Linked DNA regions of Homo sapiens: all the other regions are linked to region 2. Evidence: promoter capture Hi-C in 16 types of primary human blood cells and fetal thymus (Javierre and others, 2016). All regions are on one chromosome and are shown on one strand. Each heading gives the region's core, a stretch centred on a gene start or on the middle of the fragment in contact. The rest is flanking DNA. Distances are from core to core; before and after follow the strand shown. Region 1 overlaps ITGAM (integrin subunit alpha M). Region 2 holds the start of PRSS36 (serine protease 36). Region 3 has its middle 17 kb from the start of ITGAM.

Region 1 (5,102 bases), core at 2,049-4,548, 120 kb before region 2:
TGCAGGAAACAGGAGGGACAAAGTCAAATGCAAGTAGATGACACACTAGTTTTTTTTTTTTTTTAAGAAATAGACACTCACTCTGTTATCCAGGCTGGAGTGCAGAGACACAATCATAGCTCACTGCAGACTTGAACTCCTGGGCTCAAGTGATTCTCCTGCCTCAGCCTCCTGAGTACCTGGGACTACAGGCATGTACCACCACACTTGGTTTATTTTTTTATCTTTTTAGAGATAGAGTCTCACTATGTTGTCAATTGGTCTCAAACTCCTGGCCTCAAGTGATCCTCCCACCTCGGCCTCCTAAAGTGCTGACATTACTGGTATGAGACCCTGCACCTAGCCAGAGATGCTATTAACGTCAGAAAGGAAATGTCAGCAGAGTCCCAGACACAGATACAGCTAGGCGAGGTCTCGGAGGGGCTCCGTCTCCCCTGAGACTTAGCACTGAGATGCAACTGCCCCGAGACCTGGAAAAGCAGCAGGGAAGGGAAAGGAAGCCTTCACGGTTTTTGTTTTTATACTTTCGCATAATTTGGGTTTTTTAACTGAGTATTATTACTTTTGAATTTTAAAAATATATATATTTATGGCTGACACTTGTAATCCCAGCACTATGGGAAGCCAAGTCAGGTGAATCACCTGAGGTCAGGAGTTCAAGACCAGCCTGGTCAACATGGTGAAACCCTGTCTCTACTAAAAATACAAAAATTAGCTGATGGTGGTGATGGACGCATGTAATCCCAGCTACTCAGGAGGCTGAGGCAGGAGAATTGCTTGAACCCAGGAGGTGGAGGTTGCAGTGAGCCGAGATCAGGCCACTGCATTCCAGCCTGGGTGACAGAGTGAGACTCTGTCTCAAAAAAAAAAAAAAAAAAAAAAAAAAAAAAAAAAAAAATATATATATATATATATATATATATATATATATATATATAGTTAATTGGCCTTCAGGAAACCTCTCCCAGAGCACTGCACCAGCTCCCCAGCCCCTCTAGGACTCTCCAGTGCTTCTTGTACTTCTGTCCCAACCCCATCCTTGCCTCTACACCCACCTCAAAATCAGAGTGAACTTCCCAAAATGAGACATGGCGATATCTCACCACAGGCTGTAAAGCTGCCTTTGGCTCCCTGGCCTGAGCTGATCTTTGTAGCTTCCCTCCAGACACCTTTCCCTCACTTCCCCACTCCACTCCCACCTTTCACTCACAACTTGTCCTTTGATGAACACACCACGCACAGCCTCCCCACCTCTGCCGGTGGGGAAGCATCCTCTACCACCCCTGTCTGAACGGCTCCCTTCATCCATCAAAGCCCAGCTAAAAGTGTCTCCTCCTCCCTCCATCCTAAGGGAAAAGGGGAAGCTTACACCACTTTGCGGATGCCCGTGGCCGTGTGTGTCCGCCCAAGCAGCTGCGTTATTGGCTTCACCAGTGATCTTGGGTTAGGGTTGTTCTGGAACTCTTTGAAGGTAAAGTGAATCCGGAATTCTTCAGAGTACTGCATCAAAGAGAACTGCGGAGGGGGCGGCTGGTGTGATGCTGGAGAAGGTGCCCCCACCCCTCAGACATCTCCCAGCAAGCTCCACGAAGATCTTAAACACTCCACTCTCCAAATTCCTCCTCTGTGCTGCCCCTAATCCCCTGCCTCACCAGGACGGAGAGCTGCCAGCAGCTCCCATCTCTCCTCAATACTAGAACACGGCCAGCGGCCGGGAGCAGTGGCTCACACCTGTAATCCCAGCACTTTGGGAAGCCGAGGCGGGTGGATCACCTGAGGTCAGGAGTTTGAGACCAGCCTGGCCAAAATGGTGAAACCCCGTCTCTACTAAAAATACAAAAACTAGCCAGGCATGGTGGCATGCGCCTGTAATCCCCGCTACTCGGGAGGCTGAGGCAAGAGAATTGCTTGAACCCGGGAGGCGGAGGTTGCAGTGAGCCAAGATCACACCACTGCACTCCAGCCTGAGAGAAAGAGTGAGATTCTGTCTCAAAAAAATAAGAAATAAAAATGAAAATAGAACTCAGCCAGCAATGACACGTGGGCTTCATCTCCCATGCCAACCTTAACAATTAGAGCTGCCCGCTTTATAAAAGGCTGAAAGAATGCTGAGGCTGCATCCAACAGAGCAGAAAAGAGACTCAGGAAGGCAAACCATAATCGATCGTCAATTTGGCAATGTCTGCAGTTGAACTGGGAGGAGAACATGGTGGCCCGGTTGCCATGTATCTTCCAGCCCCGTGTGGGCTCTTCCCTAACCTACCCCTGGGCCCTCACCAAGGTTTTGGACTTTTTTAATTGCTCCATCACAGTTGAGACAAACTCCTTCATCCGCCGAAAGTCATGTGGGATGATGCTACCAGAGCCATCAATCAAGAAGGCAATGTCACTATCCTCTTGAGGACACCCTGGGGAAGGGGAAAAGAGTATGAATCAAGTAATTTGACACTTGGTGTTTTGGGTTTTTTTGCATGTCAGCCCTCTGCTGAACAATGAGAATATAGGACCCCGTCTCTATAAAAAATATAGATGTTAAATATATATATAAATTATGTATAATATATATATAATTTTTAACGTGTGTGTATATATATATATGTATACACACGTTAAAAACATATATATATATATATATATATATATATATATATATATATATATACACACACACACGTTAAAAATTAGTCAGGCATGTTGGCACATGCCTGTAGTCCCAGCTACTCAGGAGGCTGAGGGTGGGGGATCACTTCAGCCCAAAAGGTTGAGGCTTCAGTGAGCTATGATCACGCCATTGCACTCCAGCCTGGGCCACAGAGAAAGACCCTGTCTCTTAAAAATAAATAAATAAGTAAATAAACAAGGACAAAGTGGTATGGAAAATTTTCGTTAATTCTGCCCAAGGGAATCAGGGAATGTGGTGATGTTTGACTGAATCTTGAAGAACAGGAAATAATTTGCCCAGCTGGGCGAGGTGGCTCACACCTGTAATCCCAGCACTTTGGGAGGCTGAGGCAGGTGGATCACTTGAGATCAGGAGTTTGAGACCAGCCTGGCTGACATGGTGAAACCCTATCTCTATTAAAAATACAAAAAGTAGCTGAGATCGCACCACTGCACTCCAGCCTGGGTCACAGAGCAAGACTTCGAAGAAAAGGAAGAAAGGAAGAAAAAAAGGAAAGGAAAGGAAAGGAAAGGAAAGGAAAGGAAAGGAAAGGAAAGGAAAGCAAAGGAGGAAGGAAGGAAGGAAGGAAGGAAGGATTTGCCAGATATACAAAAGGAGTAGATTCTAGAAAAGGGAAGGGCACACACATATAAAGTGATGTGGAATGTGCTCCTCTGCCTTCTGCCCCATCCCCAAATCCACTTTCTACCCATTGCCGCTCAGCTCTGTGGCCTGGGAGGTCAACCTGCAGGGACCCCATCACCAGGACTCTGTTGCCCTCTGGATTCCCATTGGATTTGGCAGATGAGGGGGCTCAACAGAAGACTAGAGGGAGGAGGGCAGTGAGGTCCGGGTGTTCTCCCATTGAGGTTGTTTGGGGACAGCTATGTCCTTCACAAAAGACCAACTGTTCCTCAGAAGGAAGCCAGCTCCACATGACTCTCTCCAGACCCTGGTGAGCTCTCCCTCTCCTCAACCCATAAACCCAGGGGTGGCAACAGACCTGCTTGCCCAGGGCTTGGAAAGTCCCTGATGGCTCCCTTAGGCCTGTCACAGCTTTATAATTACTCCCTTTATAAATAAACCCCCCTCTTTGTAAATAAATCTTACTGAAACCGCCTTTGCAAAATTATGACTGAGACAGTGAAAGAGATCTAACTTAACTGATTCCATCTTGCTTCTAACCTCCAAGCTGTCCGTGTTCATTCCTGGGTGTAGGCTGAGCTAACTTTGGGAGACACTTAGTTTATAGTTTATAGTTTATAGTTTAAACAAAGATCGTAACAGCCCTTTCCCAAAGCAGACCTCCTTCTTACCTGGGGACTAGATTGCCTTTGTAGGACTAACGTTAGCCACAAGATGAGAAATTATGATTTAGGAGTCATGCAGCTGGAGGCTACAAGATTCTGACCCTCCCTAAACTGCTCCTAAAATCAGTGCTTGAGATATTTTGCAGACCTTGCACTTGATGGATCAGCTGGCACTGCCCAGATCAATAAACTGGTTCATCCGATCTTGCTGCCCCCACCCAGGAACCAACTGAACGCAAGAAGACAGCTCCGACTCCCGATGATTTCATCCCTGATCAATCAGCACTCCCAGCTCACTGGCTTCCCCCGCGACCTACCAAGTTATCCTCAAAAACTCTGCCCCCAAATGCTCGAGGAGACTGATTCGAGTGATAATAAAACTCTGGTCCCCTGCATAGCTGGCTCTGTGTGAATTATTCTTTCTCTATCGCAATTCTGCTGTCTTGATGAATCGGCTCTGTCTAGGCAGCAAGCAAGGTGAACCCCTTGGGCAGTTACATTACTGGAATGTGCTTTTGGTCCCAGTTGAGACTCCTACTGATATATGGGACAAGGGCCTCAAAAGGATTCTGGCAGAATCCAGGAATGCCGTTTGATGGAAACAGCACTACAGGGACAAACGTATGTGACGGCGATGGAGACACAGCGGTGGCATCAAGCAAAGAGCAGCGGGCAAGGGCCTTTCTACTCCAATAAGGAGCTCGACTTTATCTGTAGGCAATGGGGAGCCACAGAAGGTTCTTAGAAAAGGAAGTGAGATGATTTGTTTTGTATTTTAGAAAGACTGGCAGGGCACAGTGGCTCATGCCTGTAACCCCAGCACTTTGGGAGGCCTCCTGAATAGCTAAGACCACAGGCACACGCCACCATGCCTGGCTAATTGCATTTTTTGTAGAGATGGGGTCTCATTATGTTGTCTAGGCTGGTCCCAAACTCCTGGCCTCAAACAATCCTCCTGCCTTGACCTCCCAAAGTGCTGGAATTACAGGTGTGAGCTACCGCACCCTTTCGAATTTTGAACCAAGTGTATGTATTATATATTTTTTAATAAATGAAAACTTTTTTAAAGAAGTAGTCTTGAACCCTGAGAGTGAGGTCTAAAGAGGGAGAGGTAGAAGTGTTAGCTGAAG
Region 2 (4,666 bases), core at 774-3,273:
TCCCTTGAACTCTGGCCTCTGGGAGGTTTCAATGAAAAGAGCCAGGGGGTGATCAGAGGATGGGAGGATCCCAGCACTTTTGGAAGACTGAGGCAGCAAGATCGCTTGAGACAGGAGTTTGAGACCAGCCTGGGCAACATAATAAGACCCCATCTCTACAAAAATAAAAAACATTAGCTGGGTATGGTGGTGCGTGCCTGTAGTCCCAGCTTCTCAGGAGGCTGAGGCCAGAGGATCGCTTAAGCCCAGGAATTCGAGGTTACAGTGAGCTATAATCACAGCACTGCACTCCAGCCTGGGTGACAGAGTGAGACCGTGTCTCTAAAATTTTTTAATTGGTTTAATTAAAAATAGAGAGGATGAGATGAGAGTGAGATGGGGATTTTTCTTTCCCCACTCCCTCTCTGCTGGTAAAGGCTGCATTTCTCTATTGAAGGCCACGGCTCCTAACAGCTATCTCTTCCATAGCTGCAGCTCTTGCTGGGTTCCAGTAACTGCCCCCTCTCTGCCTCTTCAGGCCAGCAGGTAGCAAGGGCTCTCTATTATTGCTGGCCCCAGGATGCGTTACCATCCCTCTTTGGTTTCCTTTTTTTTTTTTTTTTTGTGAGACGGAGTTCGCTCTTGTCACCCAGGCTAGAGTGCAACGGCGCTATCTTGGCTCACTGCAACCTCCACGTCCTGGGTTCAAGCATTTTTATCTGCCTCAGCCTCCCTAATAGGTGGGATTACAGGTGAGTTCCACCACACTCGGCTAATTTTTGTATTTTTAGTATAGATGGGGCTTCTCCAAGTTAGCCAGGCTGGTCTTGAACTCCTGACCTCAGGTGATCTGCCCGCCTCGGCCTACCAAAGTGCTGGGATTACAGCCGTGAGCCACCCAGCCTCTTTGGTTTCCTTTGACCCTGCCTACACTTCTATAAATAGTTTCTTCCTTAAACTCTCTTCAACTCCTCTTTGAAGAGCCATATGTTTCTTTCTTCTTCTTATTCTTCTTTTTTTTTTTCTTTTTGTTGTTGTTGTTGAGACAGGGTCTCGCTTTGTCACCCAGGCTGGAGTGCAGTGGCACAATCATAGCTCACTGCAACCTCGACCTCCCAGGCTCAAGCAATCCTCCCACCTCATCTCCCGAGTAGCTGGGATACAGACGTGCACCACCACGCCCTGCAGTTCATAATTTTTGTATTTTTTAATTTTTTGTAGAGATGGGGTCTTGCTATGTTGACCAGGCTGGTCTTGAACTCCTAGCCTCAAGCAATCCTCCCACCTCAGTCTCCCAGAGTGTTAGGATCACAGGAGTGAGCCACCGTGCTCGGCCAAGTCATATGTCCCTTAAACTGGCTCTTACTGATACACACCAAGAGGTTGGGTTACTTTCCCAAAGTCACACAGAGTAAGTGACAGGGCAGCTAAGAGCATTGTCACTGGAACACAGAGCAGGGTGGAGGCTTTTTCAGCCTCGCCAGCCTGCCCAGCCCCCTCCCAGGGTCCCTATGCCCTGCCCAACCTGCTGGAATCTGTGATCCTTTTGTTGGGATGGGATTGAATTCCCTAGGGCTCCTGTCCCAGACCTGGCCAGCAGCTCCAGTAACCAGAGCTGTGTGAGAAGAAAAGGCCAAGCCACTGGGGCAGCCGCACCCCAAACAGAGGTGAGGTCTCCGATGAGTCATGCCCGTGAGGGGCCACTTCCCCTGTCCTAAGGGCCACTGCTCACCAAGGACACAGAACACTGTCCTCCTCTTTGACCTTTGCCTGCAGTGTTTTTCATCCCTCCCTCTCCCACCCAACAGGTGTCCAGGAGCTAGGACACCTGTCCTCCACCCCCACCCTGGGCCTCCAGAGACATGAGATGTGCGCAGGGCTCTGGGTGGGGCCTTCAGGCTCCCCAGCTTCCCCCTTCCAGCCCCAGATCCTCTCAGATTCCCAGAGATGGGCTCCAGCCAGGGAGGGTGGGGCTGCCCCTGGGACCATCAGGAGTCACGGGCTGCCTGGGCAGTGACAGAGCCCTGCAGGGAGCAGACCTTCACTTGGCTCTGCCTCCGCTGACTCTAGCGCCATGGCCCGGCACCTGCTCCTCCCCCTTGTGATGCTTGGTAACCTCAGGGGACAAGAGTGGCTGCAAAGGGCCTGGGTCCTGGCATCTGGGGGGCTGGAGAGCAGGATTCCTGGTTTCTGTGTGGGGAGCAGGAAGTCAGAGAGAAGGAAGTGAGGCAGCAGAAGGCGAGGATGTATCAGAGGAGGGAGAGGGAGGCCTGGGTGCCCTGGGGAGACGGAGGCTAGGAGGCTGGGGGAGGGAGTCAGGGAGGGCACATACTGAGTGCGAGTCGCCAGCCTCTTCCTGCCTACCTCTGTCTTTCCAGTCATCAGTCCCATCCCAGGAGCCTTCCAGGACTCAGGTAAGGTAGCCGGACTGGGGGAAAGTCACGTGCAGAGGCAGAAAAGACCAGAGGACTGGCATGGGTGCTGGCAGGGGTTGCTGAACGGACAGGGAAGTGGGAAGATAGGGTCGGGGGTTGGAGAGCAGGAAGTGGGGCTGGGCGGTGCAGGCCTGGAAGTCACAAGTGTCCTCCTCTCTTTCCCCTCTGGCTCCCAGCTCTCAGTCCTACCCAGGAAGAACCTGAAGATCTGGGTAAGGAAGAGGCCTTGGCACCCTCAGACCTTAAAGGAGGCTAAGGCTGGTCAGGCCATGAGGGAGGTGGAAAAGACCAGAAATGTAGACAAGCCTGGGTCCTCTATGTTCTTTGTTCAGAGGGGCAAACTGAAGTGGGTGGAGGACGGGCCTTCGTCCTGAGTTACCTGGGCTTCTGGAGTGGGGAACCCGAGGGGAGCTTTGGCTTCCACGGCTCCCCGTTGCAGACTGCGGGCGCCCTGAGCCCTCGGCCCGCATCGTGGGGGGCTCAAACGCGCAGCCGGGCACCTGGCCTTGGCAAGTGAGCCTGCACCATGGAGGTGGCCACATCTGCGGGGGCTCCCTCATCGCCCCCTCCTGGGTCCTCTCCGCTGCTCACTGTTTCATGACGTGAGTATTCGCCCTGGTCCTGGCCCCTCTCCGCCAAAAGCTGGCCCCCGCCCCCGCAGTTGGTCCCCTCCTCCCGCCCCACTTCCGTCCTCAAGGATAATTTGGAGCCAAGCTGTCCCCAAAGCGAGGTGCTATTCGAGGCATCATGGTTCCGAGTGGGGCAAGGCTGCCGGACTGGTCCCACCACTCCACTCAATATCCGGGTCTGAATCCCATCTTTCCAATGACCCCCCCACCACCAGCTCCAAATCGGATTTGCTCTTCCCCTTTGAGGAGTATCAGCACCAAATCTGGATCGGATAGCACCTGCCCCTCTGGCTCTGAGCCCCTGCCCCCAACGAGGGTCTGCCCCCTCCATAGGGTCAACCTAACCTCCTACTGCCCCGGTCGAGCGCAGGAATGGGACGCTGGAGCCCGCGGCCGAGTGGTCGGTACTGCTGGGCGTGCACTCCCAGGACGGGCCCCTGGACGGCGCGCACACCCGCGCAGTGGCCGCCATCGTGGTGCCGGCCAACTACAGCCAAGTGGAGCTGGGCGCCGACCTGGCCCTGCTGCGCCTGGCCTCACCCGCCAGCCTGGGCCCCGCCGTGTGGCCTGTCTGCCTGCCCCGCGCCTCACACCGCTTCGTGCACGGCACCGCCTGCTGGGCCACCGGCTGGGGAGACGTCCAGGAGGCAGGTGAGTGGGACGGGACAAGAGGGGAGGGCCTCGGGGAGGTGGGGCTTCGAGAGGTGAGGTTCCTAGGGCGGGGCCTCAGGAGGTGGGGCCACGGAGCGGAGCCTGCGGGGAGCGTTGGAGGGTAGGTTTCTGCGGGTCGGTGGATGAATCCCACACCGATCTCCATGTAGCCTTCTCCCTGCAAGGATTCTCAAACTAAGACCACGGAATCACCCACACGCACCCCATTCCCTCCTTACCTGTCCTTCCAGTTTTTTCTTTCCTGGGTTTAGGCTCCGACTAGGGTTCCCATCCCAGCTCTAACATGTCAGACAAAGCACTTCACCCAGTACATTTCCTCATCTGTAACACGAGGAAAATAGCCATACCCACTTCAAGGGGTGGTTGAGTGGATTAAATGAGAAAATCCATGTAAAGTTCATAGTACAGTGCCTGGCATAGCAATAACCAATGCACTTTACATATTTCACCTCAGGTAATCTATAGTAAAGCACTACAGCATAAGGCTGGCCTATAATAGATATTCAGCAAATGCCAGTCTGTGCCTCCCTCCCATCCGCCTTCCTCTCATTCCATCCACCCCCACTCATCTCTCTACTCCCCACCTCCTCTCTTCTTCCTACCCACCATCATTCATTCAATCATTCTTTCACTCAAGATATTTCTTGAGCACCTTCTACATGCCAGGCACCGTGTTAGGCATTAGAGAGACACCAGTGAACATAAAAAGCCAAAATCCTGCCTTTTCAGAGTTTACATCCTAGGAGATAGACAAGCAACAAATTCAATAAATAAGCACGCATTATGTTAGAAGGTGGGGGGGAATAGACCAAATCTCCATCCCCATCATCCCCATCACCCAAGCTTTCCATGCTCCCAGGGCCCCCACAAATATCCACATCAGCCGTGGTCAGACCTGTGCCCATCCTCGGGGCTTTGGGTAGGTGCTACAGGGGAAGATGCTACAGCCTC
Region 3 (5,081 bases), core at 1,351-3,850, 92 kb before region 2:
ATCTCTACTAAAAATACTTTTTAGCCGGGCATGGTGGCACATGCCTGTAATCCCAGCTACTCAGGAGGCTGAGGCTGAGGCAGGAGAATCACTTGAACCTGGGAGGTGGAGGTTGCGGTGAGCTGAGATCACACCATGGCACTCCAGCCTGGGCAACAAGAGTGAAACTCCATCTCAACAAACAAGGCCAGGCGTGGTGGCTCACGCCTGTAACCCCAGCACTTTGGGAGGCCAAGGCAGGCGGATCACCTGAGGTCGGGAGTTTGAGACCAGCCTGACCAACATGGAGAAACCCCATCTCTACTAAAAATACAAAATTAGCCGGCGTGGTGGCGCATGCCTGTAATCCCAGCTATTCGGGAGGCTGAGGCAGGGGAATCCCTTGAACCTGGGAGGCAGAGTTTGTGGTGAGCCGAGATCGCACCATTGCACTCCAGTCTGGGCAACAAGAGCGAAACTCCATCTCAAAAAAAAAAAGGAGGAAGAGAATATAGCTTTTTAAACACTAAAACACATTTCACAAAAACCATTAAGCATTTTTAGTTGTCTAGGGTGGTACACACCTGTAGTTTCAGCTACTCAGGAGGCTGAGGCAGAAGGATCACTTGAGCCCAGGAGGTCAAGGCTGCAACGAGCCACAGTCATGTGACTGCACTCCAGCCTGGGCAACAGAGTGAGACCCTGTCCCAAAAAAAAAAAAAGTTATGTGATTATATGCCAAGTATTTACAACAGAGATTATGTCTGTTGGGATGCTTTGAGCTACAAATAACAGAGATCACAACTTAAACAATAGCCCATGAATCCTATCACAGAAAGAGGCCAGACAGGAGCTCCAGGGCAGGGTAATCGGAAGCTCAGCAGTGTCTGTTAAACACCGAGTGATTTTATCTCACATCACTGGATTCCACAAGGCTGAACTGAATTGTTGTCAGGTTCCTCTTTGCTATTCTGAAGTTTCTCCTCACTTCCCCTTTTCCCATTGAGGAGTGGGCCTCCCTTACCTAATGTGTTTCACTTCCCCGGTATCTACAACTACAATTTATTGGGCTTCCTGCTGGACTCTTAGAAATGAAGCAATGAATTCCTCACTTATTCATTTACTCATTAAAATATATAAACTCAAGATAAACTCGAGAGACTGAGGCAAGAGGATCTCTTGAGCCCAGGAGTTCAAGGCTGCAGTGAGCTATGATCGTGCTACTGCACTCCAACCTGGGTAACAGGGTAAGACTCTATCTCTTTAAAAAAAAAAAAAAAGTATCTCTCTCTCTCTTTTTTTTTTTTTTTTTTTTTTGAGATGGAATTTCGCTCTTGTTGCCCAGCCTGGAGTGCAATGGCGAGGTCTCAGCTCACTGCAACTGCTGCCTCCCAGGTTCAAGCAATTCTCCTGCCTCAGCCTCCCAAGTAGCTGGGATTACAGGCACCTGTCACCATGCCCAGCTAATTTTTGTTTTTTTAGTAGAGACAGGATTTCACCATGTTGGCCAAGCTGGTCTTGAACTCCTGACCTCAAGTGATCTGCCCACCTCAGCCTCCCAAAATGCTGGGATTACAGGCATGAACCACCATGCCCAGCTTGCTCTATCTCTCTTTCTCTCTCTCTCTCTCTATATGTATAGGTATATGTATACCTATACATATATATCCAGATATATAGAGATAACGTGTGTGTGTGTATATATATATATATATAATGTGTACATATATATAATGTGTACGTATATATAATGTGTATGTGTGTATATATATAGAGAGAGAGAGAAAGTGAGAGAGAAACAACTATGTACCAGGCATCAGGGACCTACAAATAAGCAAAACACACAAGGTCCCTTCCCTCACAGAGCTTTTCTTTCTTTCTTTCTTTCTTTCTTTCTTTCTTTCTTTCTTTCTTTCTTTCTTTCTTTTCTTTTCTTTTTGGTAGAGGTGGGTCTCACTATGTTGCTCAGGCTAGTCTTGAACTCCTGGCCTTAAGTGACTTAGCCTCTGAGAGTGCTGGGATTACAGGCGTGAGCCACAGTGACTGGCCCAAACACAAATTTTTCTTTCTTTCTTTTTTTTTTCCAAGGCAGAGTCTCGCTCTGTCACCCAAGCTGGAGTGCTGTGGTGCGATCTTGGCTCACTGCAACCTCCATCTCCTGGGCTCAAATGATTCTCGTGCCTCAGACTCCCAAGTAGCTGGGATTACAGGCACACACCACTACACCTGGTTAATTTTTTTTATTTCTCGTAGAAACGGGGCCTCACTGTGTTGCCTAGGCTGGTCTCAAACTCTTGGCCTCAAGCATTCCTCCCTCTTCAGCTTCCCAAAGTTCTGGGATTACAGGCATGAGCCTTCACACCTGGCCTCGCTTGTCTTTTTTTCTTTGAGAGAATTTGTTTCTCATAATTGCAACCATAGTGGATTTATTGTTTGATGTGATTGTTGTCTCTTATGAGTATTGCTTATTTCATTAAAAAACTCTTTGATATTAGATCTCACACTATTTGATTCGCAAAGTTGCGAATCATGGTTTCGCAAAGTTGCAAAAGATGGTTTAAGGGTGAAGGAAAAGCGTTCATTCACACAGCGAAAGCCATTTCTATCCATTCATCCAGGCCTTGGGCAACTGAACAGTGGGCATTTCCTGGTTCTTGAGTCCTTTCCTGAAACACCCAGCTACACCCGAACCTTGCTAAATTCTCTGCTCTGTCTCAACTCCGGGACAAAAGCCAGAAAAACAGTAGCAGCAGTTTAGATTGGCCATGACTACTTTCAACTTTACTAATACAAGCCTCCCTTCTGAGGATATTAGAGTCACATTCTACCCCCATCCCCACCCCCAGGCAAACGCTTCAGAATTCTTTCAGGATGGGGATTAACTAATAACCGCATGGGGAAGAGAAGCCAAGATTGAGAGATAGATCAGGCTCCTGGGCCAACACCATCACTATTGCTGTTGGGAACTGCTGAGAGACTGTTTTCTCCAATGAACTGGAGACCTGATTCCAACCCTCCCTTCATTCCCTAAGAGGGTCAATTAAGATCATGGATATGAAAGCACTTTGTAAAATCTGAAAGTGCTACCCATGTGATTGCATCTGAATTGGGATGTTATGAGTTAGGGTTCAGGTTTCAAGCACCAGTTAGAAATCTTTTAGGGACTGAGGCTGGGCATGATGGCTCACGCCTGTATTCCCAGCAGTTTGGGAGGCCAAGGCAGGCAGATCACCTGAGGTCAGGAGTTCAAGACCAGCCTGGCCAACATGAGTGAAACCCCATCTCTACTAAAAATACAAAAAATAGCCCGGAGTGGTGGCGTGAGCCTGTAATCCCAGCTACTCGGGAGGCTGAGACAGGAGAATCACTTGAACCCAAGAGGCGGAGGTTGTAGTGAGCAAGATTGCACCACTGCACTCCAGCCTGGGAGACAGAGCGAGACTCCATTTCAAAAAAAAAACAAATAAATAAAATAAATCTTTTAGGGACAAGGGATTTTCCCACCAGGTAGAGCAGCAGGGATGTTGACCCAAAGAATCCATGCTCAGGACCCAGGTCCCACCCTGATGGAAGGAGCTTGCAGTGCCAAGAGAGTGTGTTGCCATCACTCAGGCACTGTGAAGGCACAAAAAAAATGCCCTGTGCAGATGACACTTAAGCCAAAGCTGTCCAAACATTTCCTCTGTAACACAAGGAGAAGAACTCCATAAACAGAGTTGAAGGACAAGCTGTCAGATTAGGAGAAAACACTTGCCACACATGTATGTAGCAGAAAAAAAAAAAAGTATGCAGATATATAAAGAACCACAATAACTCATGAAGGAAAATAAGCAGCCGGGCGCACGGTGGCTCGTGACTGTAATCCCAGCACTTAAGGAGGCTGCGGAAGGTGGGTCACTTGAGGTCAGGAATTCGTGACCAGCTTGGCCAACATGGTGAAACCCCTTCTCTACTAAAAATACAAAAAGCCGGGCGTGGTGGTGCGCGCCTGTAATCCCAGCTACTCAAGAGGCTGAGGTAGGAGAATTGTTTGATCCTGGGAGGCAGAGGTTGCCGTGACCCAAGATCGTGCCACTGCACTCCAGTCTGGGTGACAGAGCGAGACTCCGTTTCAAAAAAAAAAAAAAGCCAAGGCATAGGAACAGACCATTTTTAGAAGAGGAATTATAACTGGTCAATAAATGCATACAATGAGAAAAATATAAATTAAACTTTTAAAAAGCCATGTGATACTATTTATTTATTTCCCATCATGTTGGCAAAAAGAAATAAGAATTTGAGCTTGATAATATTGAGTGCTCCAGCATGGCCAACATGGTGAAACCCTGTCTCTACTAAAACTACAAAAATTAGCCAGGCATGATAATTTTAGCCAGGCAAAAATTAGCCTGAAATCCCAGCTACTCGGGAGGCTGAGACAGGAAAATCCCTTGAACCCAGGAGTCGGAGGTTGCAGTGGGCCAAGATTGCACCACTGCACTCCAGCCTGGCAGCCTGGGCGACAGAATGAGATTCTGGCTCAAAAAAAAAAAAAAAAAGAGTGCTGGAGAAGATTTGGAGAAACTATATTCTCGTACGGTGCTGTTTGGAATGCAAATTGATAGAATTTTTGTTTACAGCCCCAAAGCTGAGGACAAAACTGATTAATACAAAGCCCCACATTCTAAACCGAGCCGCAGACACACCCTTTAGGATTCCTAGTGAGAGAGCAGGTCCATCTTGCTAATTTCCACCCTCATCACCCACCTCAATGAGACAGCTGTGGTGGTTCCTCACCTGCCCCCACAGGGACGTCCCACACCTCAAAGCAAGTGAGGAGGTTGCTCCAAAAGAAGCCCTGACCAGCCTGGGCAACATACTGAGACCCCATTTCTACTAAAATTAAAAAGTGAAAATTAGCCAGGCAGGGTGGCGCACACCTATAGTCCCAGCTACTTGGAAGGCTGAGGCGGGAGGATCGCTTGAGCCCAGGAGTTGGAGGCTGCAGTGAGCTGTGATTGCACCTCTGAACTCCAGCCTGAGTGACAGAGACCTTGTCTCAAAAACAAACAAACAAACAATACAACAACAATTAAAAAAGAAGAAGAAGAAGCCCTTGTGGA

Evidence for each region. The method cuts DNA at HindIII sites, captures the fragments that hold promoters and counts their contacts. A CHiCAGO score of 5 or more calls a contact.
Region 1: a contact is called between a fragment that was not itself captured here and the fragment with the promoter of PRSS36 in region 2, in 2 of 17 cell types (M2 macrophages and M0 macrophages). The highest score is 8.1, in M2 macrophages.
Region 3: a fragment that was not itself captured here is called in contact with the fragment with the promoter of PRSS36 in region 2 in 1 of 17 cell types (monocytes); the score reaches 5.8 in monocytes.

Annotation. Positions count from the first base shown.
Region 1 is chr16:31,268,260-31,273,361 of GRCh38, reverse strand. It overlaps ITGAM (integrin subunit alpha M), which reads right to left. Exons shown (of 30, transcript NM_000632.4): 6 at 2,278-2,408; 7 at 1,370-1,515. Among named protein-coding and RNA genes, the nearest start is that of ITGAM, 11 kb to the right of the region's middle. RefSeq lists enhancers at 1-29, 1,029-1,554, 1,555-2,080. The HindIII fragment of the contact is 3,863 bases long and covers 1,367-5,102 here.
Region 2 is chr16:31,147,423-31,152,088 of GRCh38, reverse strand. PRSS36 (serine protease 36) reads left to right here and starts at 2,023. Exons shown (of 15, transcript NM_173502.5): 1 at 2,023-2,090; 2 at 2,358-2,393; 3 at 2,591-2,626; 4 at 2,854-3,016; 5 at 3,414-3,694. The coding sequence starts at 2,054. RefSeq lists enhancers at 1,779-2,315, 2,316-2,851, 2,852-3,389. The HindIII fragment of the contact is 9,446 bases long and covers 1-4,560 here.
Region 3 is chr16:31,240,042-31,245,122 of GRCh38, reverse strand. No RefSeq gene overlaps it. Among named protein-coding and RNA genes, the nearest start is that of ITGAM, 17 kb to the left of the region's middle. RefSeq lists enhancers at 1-238, 239-743, 1,105-1,194. The HindIII fragment of the contact is 8,842 bases long and covers 1-5,081 here.